Linked DNA regions of Homo sapiens: all the other regions are linked to region 1. Evidence: promoter capture Hi-C in human tissues and cell types (Jung and others, 2019). All regions are on one chromosome and are shown on one strand. The core of a region is centred on a gene start or on the middle of the fragment in contact, and the rest is flanking DNA. Distances in the headings are between cores, read along the strand shown. Region 1 has its middle 38 kb from the start of GHET1. Region 2 holds the start of CUL1 (cullin 1). Region 3 holds the start of ZNF786 (zinc finger protein 786).

Region 1 (2,716 bases), core at 94-2,593:
GATCTAGGAAAGGCACAAGCTCGAAGGAGCAAATTAAGAATTTGCTGTTCATGTAAAGCCTGACTTTTTTTTTTTTTTTTTTTTTTTTTTTTTTAGTTAGTAATATATCAGACTTCGACTAGAACTTTCCACTCCTTCAGCTAACCCCTGCTGCTGCTATGCCCAAGGGCAATTCGATCAGAGCCCATGCCAGATTTGAAGGCTGGCCCTTATGGAAGCCACTGCCTTTGTTACCCTGCCAGAGACCTCAAGAGAACTACTGAGTTACTTTAGAGGGTTCCTTGACTGCTAAACCTCGTTTGACTTTCTTCTGCTGCTTGTAAGGGTGTCCAGCTGAGTCTATCCCTTCTGGCTCTAACCAATAGACAGATCCTTGCTGTTCCACAGTTTCATGGGACTGGACCCCCTCCCTTGGGTCTGCTCTCTGTTCTGGAAACCACGAAAGAGTCTTGTTTATTCCTTTTTTGTGTGTTGCCATTTAGCATATCCTTTGCTGTTTCCTAATAATTTGCAAATGTGTCTTATATCCCCAAATAGATAATAACTTCTTTAGTAGTGGGTATGCAATTGTATTCGTTTCATTAGCCTCAATGCCTTCTACATAGGAGTTGCTTGTTTTAAAAACAAGAACCCAGGCTGGGGTGGTGGCTCACCCCTGTAATCCTAGCACTTTGGGAGGCGGAGGTGAGAGGATCACTTGAGGTCAGGAGTTCAAGACCAGCCTGGCCAACATGATGAAACCCTGTCTTTACTAAAAATACAAAAATTAGCTGGGTATGGTGGCAGGCAACTGTAGTCCCAGCTACTAGGGAGGCTAAGGCAGGAGAATTGCTTGCACCCAGGAGACGGAGGTTACAGTGAACCGAGATTGCACCACTGCACTCCAGCCTGGGTGACAGAGCTAGCTAGACTCCATCTCAAACAACAACAACAACAACAACAAAACATAAAAATTAAGCTGGGTGTGGTAGCTCACGCCTGTAATGCCAGCACTTTGGGAGGCCAAGGTGGGTGGACCACTTGAGGTCAGGAGTTCAAGACCAGCCTGACCAACATGGTGAAACCCCGTCTCTACTAAAAATACAAAAAATTAGCCGGGTGTGGTGGTGCACATCTGTAATCCCAGCTACTCGGGAGGCTGAGGCAGGAGCATCGCTTGAAATCAGGAGGCGGAGGTTGCAGTGAGCCGAGATCATGCTGAGAGGTGACAGCATGCTGGCAGTCCTCAGAGCCCTCGCTCGCTCTCGGCACCTCCCTTGCCTGGGCTCCCACTTTGGTGGCATTTGATGAGCCCTTCAGCCCCCCACTGCACTGTGGGAGCCCCTTTCTGGGCTGGCCAAGGCCAGAGCCCACTCCCTCAGCTTGCAGGGAGGTGTGGAGGGAGAGGCACGAGCGGGAACCGGGGCTGCGTGCGGCGCTTGCGGGCCAGCTGGAGTTCCGGGTGGGCGTGGGCTTGGTGGGCCCCGCACTCGGAGCAGCCAGCCAGCCCTGCTGGCCCCAGGCAATGGGGGACTTAGCACCCGGGCCAGTGACTGCGGAGGGTGTACTGAGTCCCCCAGCAGTGCCGGCCCACCGGCGCTGTGCTCGATTTCTCGCTGGGCCTTAGCTGCCTTCCCGCAGGGCAGGGCTCGGGACCTGCAGCCCGCCATGCCTGAGCCTCCCACCCACTCCATGGGCTCCTGTGCGGCCCCAGCCTCCCCAACGAGCACCACCCCCTGCTCCACGGCACCCAGTCCCATCGACCACCCAAGGGCTGAGGAATGCGAGCGCACGGCGCAGGACTGGCGGGCAGCTCCACCTGCAGCCCCGGTGCGGGATCCACTAGGTGAAGCCAGCTGGGCTCCTGAGTCTGGTGGGGACGTGGAGAGTCTTTATATCTAGCTCAGGGATTGTAAATACACCAATCAGCACCCTGTGTTTAGCTCAAGGTTTGTGAGTGCACCAATCGACACTCTGTATCTAGCTGCTCTGGTGAGGACATGGAGAACCTTTATGTCTAGCTCAGGGATTGTAAATACACCAATCGGCACTCTGTATCTAGCTCAAGGTTTGGAAACACACCAATCAGCACCCTGTGTTTAGCTCAAGGTTTGTAAATGCACCAATCGACACTCTGTATCTAGCTGCTCTGGTGGGGCCTTGGAGAACCTGTGTGTGGAAACTCTGTATCTAACTAATCTGATGGGGACGTGGAAAACCTTTGTATCTAGCTCAGGGATTGTAAATGCACCAATCAGCACCCTGACAAAACAGGCCACTCGGCTCTACCAATCAGCAGGATGTGGGTGGGGCCAGATAAGAGAATAAAAGCAGGCTGCCCAGCCAGCAGTGGCAACCTGCTCGGGTCCCCTTCCACGCTGTGGAAGCTTTGTTCTTTCACTCTTTGCAATAAATCTTGCTACTGCTCGCCCTTTGGGTCCACGCTGCTTTTATGAGCTGTAACACTCACCGCGAAGATCTGCAACTTCACTCCTGAGTCCAGCGAGACCACAAGCCAACCGGGAGAAATGAACAACTCCAGACACGCTGCCTTAAAAGCAGTAACATTCACCGTGAAGGTCTGCAGCTTCACTCCTGAGCCAGTGAGACCACGAACCCACCAGAAGGAAGAAACTCCAAACACATCTGAACATCAGAAGGGACTAACTCCAGAGGCGCCACCTTAAGAGCTGTAACACTCACCGCGAGGGTCCGCAGCTTCATTCTTGATGTCAGT
Region 2 (2,716 bases), core at 129-2,628, 250 kb before region 1:
TGTTTCTTCTGAGATAACCCACTTTATGCAGGAAACAGTGTGGACTCTGGGGACGGCCTCTGCTCTGGCTGAGGATTTCTGTCCCAGAGCGGTACAGGAATCTGCGTAGTGTTTTAGTTTGGAGAAAACAGGAAGTTACACTCATCACATCTTTTGCCCAGATGATAGAATTCGAAATCCCCCCGGGGTTGTTCATGGAATGAGCCGCTCTGTTATGTTGTGAGCCGTGGTATTAATCAGCCACCCCTCACTAGGTGTTGGGGTTCCACCACGCTTCCTCCACCCCCCGTCACCACAGCAGCGGGTAGTATTTAGGTTGAATATTCCAAATAGTCAATTATGACAGTTAATTTCAAATGAGATGACTTCGAAGTACACGTGAAAACAATACTATTTTATATCACGACTCATGCCATCCGTATGTGTAATCAAAGCCTTCTAAGTCTTGATATGTCCTTACAAAGACGAAGGATAGAGTGAATGTCAAAATTTGCCAAACAGGAGTTACTGAAAGTCTGAAGGGGAAAGCCTAGTTAGGTTTTATCTTAGAAGTGATTTTTAAAACGAAACACGCAGATAAGCTCGAGCTTTCTGGAGCCGATTCCTAAGGCCTTGCAGGTGGTAAGGGGGTCGAGAATTGGCTGAGGTTCCTCGGAAGTCCGCGCCGATTCGGAGGGCCACCTCTGACTTTCTGATCTGGGGTGCAACCCCCAGTCCCTGTCCCGGTCGACAAAGGTGTGGAGTCAGGTTCCAGGCAAGCTGGGGGTGGGGGTGCGCACAAGGGAGGGGCAGGGGACTGGGACCCCCTCTTCTTCGGGGTGCTTCGGGCCGTTTCTCCAGAGGCTGGTGGTGTCCCCGACCCAAGCAGCTCAGCCCCGCTCGCGAGGTCCGAAGTGGCGGGAACGGGTCCTCCGCGGCGGTCCCAAGGCGAGGGAGGCTGTAAAACCTGGCAGAGAATCCGGCGCGCCGGGTCGGGGATGTCTCGGGTGCCGGGGGCAGGGGCCGCAGGCTCGCAGGTAGAAGCTTCCCCACGCGAGCGGGGGCCTCGGCCGCGGAAGGGGCGCCCCCGGGGCCGCCGGCAGCGGCGAGCGGGCGGGAGGGAGCTTTCCGGGCCCCTCCCGCGCCTCGGGCTGGCGGGGCGATGGCGACGACGGTTTCCCGGCTCCCCCGCCCCGGACGCCGATGGCGGTGCGTTCCGGCCCTCCCCCAACAGCTTCTCCCCCGCGGTCGCCGGAGCCGGTGAGGCCGAGAGGGCGGGGAGCCGCGCAGGGAAGGCGAGAGGGCGGAGGTTGCGTGGTGCAGGCGGCGGCGGCGGGAGGAGGAGGGCCGGGCGGGCAGGGGAGGAGGAGGAGGCGGGCGCCGTGTCGCACGCAGCTCCAGGCGGGGCAGCCCCGGTAGCTGAGGGACGCAGCTAGACCTTGGCGGGACGGGGCTTTCGCCGGGGCCCAGGCCCAGGGACCAGGCGGAGGCGTCGCGGGAGCCTTTGGGGCACCACAGAGATGCGGGTGAGTGTCGGCAGCCGCCGGGGCCGAGAGGAGGTGGCGGCGGCGGCGGCGGCGCAGGCCCGGCCCCGAGCCGCGGTGTCGCAGTGACTCGGGCCGCGACGGCCGAAACCAGGCGCCTGGCGAGGCCTGAGCCGCCGAAACGCGGCCGGGCAGAATGGCGGCCGGGCCGGGGGACTCGTGGGCGGAGGACGCCGAAGGTGGCAGAGGAGCGAGCGGGGCCGGGCCCTGAGTCACCCCGGACGGGCCGGGGCGGCCAGGCCTGGACTACGCACTGGGAAAAAGCACGATTCATCGCGCCTGGAGGCGGCGGCCTGGTGGCGCCGGCCCCTTTCCCCGCCGCGACCGGGCTGGGTTCTCGGAGGGTGGGCCGACGTGTGGCCCGGGGCGGCTCGGGCGTCCGCGCCTCGCCTGGTGAGGCGACCTCCGCGGGACGCCGGGACCCGTGCCCTTGCCCCCTCGCGCCCACGCTTCTTCCCGGCGCTGCTTTCCGGCCGACGCGTGTTCCCCTGTGAGCTCTGGGCTCAAGCGCAGGAGCAGCCGCGGAGCCGGGCTCTCTCGCTTTCCGGTTCCCTGCCCGCGGCTCTCGGGTTCCCCGCCTGCATTGTTGCGAACGTGCAGGGCGCTATTATTGGGTAACAGTCGCCCTTTTGCCCCGTTCTCCTGGGAGAGCGGGCCGGGGCATGCGCGCAGGGATGCTAGCCCGGCGGCCGAACCGGACAGAGCCCCCCGGCGCCCGCCTATCGCTCGCTAGTCGGGCCGGGCCCTGCGCTGCGGCCTCGGCGCGCCCCCGGTCCCAACGGGAGCGCGCGCCCTGACCCTGAGGGTAGCCGTGCGCCCGCCAGGCCGCTGGGACTTGGGGTCCCCAGACTCGGGGGTCGTCGCTTTTTTTTCCCTTAAGATCTGAAAGACCCCCGTTTCTGCCACCCGTGCAGTATTGTGTAGCGCAGACATAAGATAAGAAAGAGAGGAATGCTTGTAGACATTCCTTGAAATGAATCCCCAAAGTTAGGGTTTTCTCCCTGGCTGGCTTTGCCAAAAAGAGGATTCTCTTTTCCGATTGGGTCACTCTTGGTTGCTTCTGGTTCGTAGTAGGGGTTAGTGGTAAGTGCGCAAATACTGAATTGCAGTCTACTTAAATATTTGTTTGCTCTGTGTAATTGCTCTTTCCTGTAGTAGCATTAAAATCGTCAAAAGTTCTGAGTGGAGTAAAC
Region 3 (2,716 bases), core at 102-2,601, 140 kb after region 1:
TGCAGTGGCGCCATCTCAGTTCGCTGCAACCTCCACCTCCCGAGTTCAAGCAATTCTCCCTACCTCAGCCTCCCGAGGAGCTGGGATTACAGGCGTCCGCCACCACACTCAGCTAATTTTCGTATTTTTTAGTAGAGACAGTTTTTCGCCATGTTGGCCAGGCTGGTCTTGAACTCCTGACGTCAAGTGATCTGCCCACCTCGGCCTCTCAAAGTGCTGGGATTACAGGCGTAAACCACGGCGCCTGGCCTGAATGTCACAAGTTTTAAAATCCATTCTTTTACTCATTAATAATTTATTTTCAGGTCTGTGATTTGGCTGTTTATATCCTTTCCCCATATATATAGGTATGTATATATTTTTGGAGACGGAGTTTCGCTCTTGTTGCCCAGGCTGGAGTGCAATGGTGCAGTCTCGGCTCACTGCAACCTCCGTCTCCCGGGTTCAAACAATTCTCCTGCCTGAGCCTCCCGAGTAGCTGGGATTACAGGCGCCCGCCATCATGCCAGGCTAATTTTTTGTATTTTTAGTAGAGTTGGGGTTTCACCATGTTGGCCAGGCTGGTCTCGAACTCCCGACCTCACGTGATCCACCCGCCTCGGCCTCCCAAAGTGCTGGGATTACAGGCGTGAGCCACCGCGCCCGGCCTAATTCATTTAATAATCAGCAAAAATCCTCAACATTAAAGTTTACAAGATAAAAATACCCTCTAAACCTCGATTTTAAGAAACCACTAACTTAATTTTTTGTATCCTCTTCTACTCTTCCCAACGTATCATCTTACACTCAACCCAAATCACGCTAGACAATAAATTCTGACATTGAAGCCCCCGCCAAACACCATTTCAACCATTCGGAATCTTAAACTTTTTGGAACAGTTGTTCTGATTTCGGTGACTATGATGTAAAACTGGTTGACCTGTAACATCCACCTCTGGCCCCAAACCTTTCTATCCTTTCCACCGTCCGCTCCCCGTCCGCCCGGCATCCTCGCCCAGGCTCCGCCCCGCTCCTAGGTCGGCCTCGGTCCACGCTCGGCTTTGTCCAGGGGTTTGGCCACGGACAAGCCGCGGGAGCGGAGGCCACCTGCTCACCGCAGGGCCCGGAATCCACATCCCCAGCAGAAGCAGCCTGCAGACTCCGTCCTACCCGTGCACCGCGCGCACTCACGGGGACCCCAGGACACGGGCGAGCCCGGAACCCGAGGACCCACCACGACCCCGAAACCGGGCGTCCAAACAGGCTAGCCCGCTTACCCGAGGCGGCTCCGCCATGGTCCCCGCGGTCCCGCCCGGCCCTGGCAAACCCGACCGTCTCCGGCGGCTCCGCAGGAACCTGCCCTGCTGCGCACTGACTCCCCTCCGCTCCGCCCCAACCCGACTCCCACGCACAGCCCGGGTGGCCCCCAAACGCAGCGCCGGCCGGGCGCGGTGCATGCTGGGACCCGGCGCCCGGCCGCGGCTGCCGCTCAGTCCTACAGCGCCTCCTGCGGGAGGAAGAAGCGGCGCTGCCTGAGCGTCGGTCCTCAGAGGAGGGACCCAGGGGCCCGGGCGCCCTCAGAGCAGGCCGCAGCACGCCGGTCTTTGAGGGACCCTCGGATTCCCGGGATCTGGGGAGGGAAGCGGTCAGAGACAAGCTGAGGAGCTGGCCGGAGGGGAAACGGAGGGGCAGGACATGGAGAGATCAGGGACAGGGACAGGGAGAGATCAGGGACAGGGACAGGGAGACGCGCTCCACAGAAACCCAGACTGAGAGGCAGCGAGAGGGGAACCTCCGGTGCGGTTCCTCCCAAAGCCGCCCCCGAGACAGGCTTCGTCTGTGAGGGGGTCCCGGGAATCCAGCGAGGCCGGAAAGTGGGTGGGGGGCGCGCGCTGCCCGCGGTGGCCCGGGGCATCCGTCCCGCCGGGGGCGCGGAGGCCGTGGGGGCCCCATGCTTGTCCCGCCGGGGACGCGGAGGCGGGGTCCGCCCACCAGGTCCGGTCGCCGTGGGTCTAGAGCCCTCCGGGCTCCCCGGGCGGCCACGCTCCTTCCTTAGCAGAGAACGGCCTTGGGCAGAGACCCCATGCGGAAGCCACCCCGGCCTCAGGGCCGCCTGCAGGGACTCAGGGTGGCCCAAGGCTGCGGTCGGGCACCCCGGGCCCCGGCAGGAGACAGAGACAGAGTAGGAGGAGAAGACGGAGGAGGCCATGACACAGGGCGTGAGAAACACGAGAACGCAAGAACAGGGGAGAGGTGGGGAAACCAGGAAGAGACAGAAAGGAGAGAGGGCGAGGAAGGGGGTGGCGATTGTCTCCAGAAAATCAACCTCGCATTCTGTCTTAGTCATGTCTTAGGTGTCAGGCTGAAGTAGCAAAGGAAAAGTGTGTAGTTTGGAGAGGATGTGCATAAGAAATAAAATAGTCCCTGCGTAGGCTGAGGAGCATATACGCATCTGTGTTTGCCACAGAATCGTGAAATGTACATGCACCTTACTGTTTAACGTTTTTTATTTTTACAACTGTTATACAGTACAATTTTTTTTTTTTGGAGACAAAGTCTCACTCTTGTCACCCAGGCTGGAGTGCTGTGGCGCAATCTCGGCTCACTGCAACCTCTGTCTCCTGGATTCAAGCAATTCTCCTGCCTCAGCCTCCCGAGTAGCTGGGATTACAGGCATTTGCCACCACGCCCGGCTAATTTTTGTATTTTTAGTAGAGACGAGGTTTCACCATGTTGG

Evidence for each region. The method cuts DNA at HindIII sites, captures the fragments that hold promoters and counts their contacts. A contact is called where the count stands out against the background at its distance.
Region 2: a contact is called between the fragment with the promoter of CUL1 here and a fragment that was not itself captured in region 1, in 1 of the 25 tissues and cell types used here (lymphoblastoid cells).
Region 3: the fragment with the promoter of ZNF786 here is called in contact with a fragment that was not itself captured in region 1 in 1 of the 25 tissues and cell types used here (adrenal gland).

What each region holds. Positions count from the first base shown.
Region 1 is chr7:148,947,702-148,950,417 of GRCh38, forward strand. No RefSeq gene overlaps it. Among named protein-coding and RNA genes, the nearest start is that of GHET1, 38 kb to the right of the region's middle. The HindIII fragment of the contact is 6,313 bases long and covers 1-2,716 here.
Region 2 is chr7:148,697,525-148,700,240 of GRCh38, forward strand. It overlaps CUL1 (cullin 1), which reads left to right and starts at 1,379. Exons shown (of 22, transcript NM_003592.3): 1 at 1,379-1,505. RefSeq lists silencers at 234-293, 954-1,983, 2,284-2,383 and enhancers at 564-613, 1,681-2,406. The HindIII fragment of the contact is 3,848 bases long and covers 1-2,102 here.
Region 3 is chr7:149,089,367-149,092,082 of GRCh38, forward strand. It overlaps ZNF786 (zinc finger protein 786), which reads right to left and starts at 1,352. Exons shown (of 4, transcript NM_152411.4): 1 at 1,257-1,352. The coding sequence starts at 1,274. RefSeq lists silencers at 1,294-1,593, 1,714-2,203. The HindIII fragment of the contact is 46,746 bases long and covers 1-2,716 here.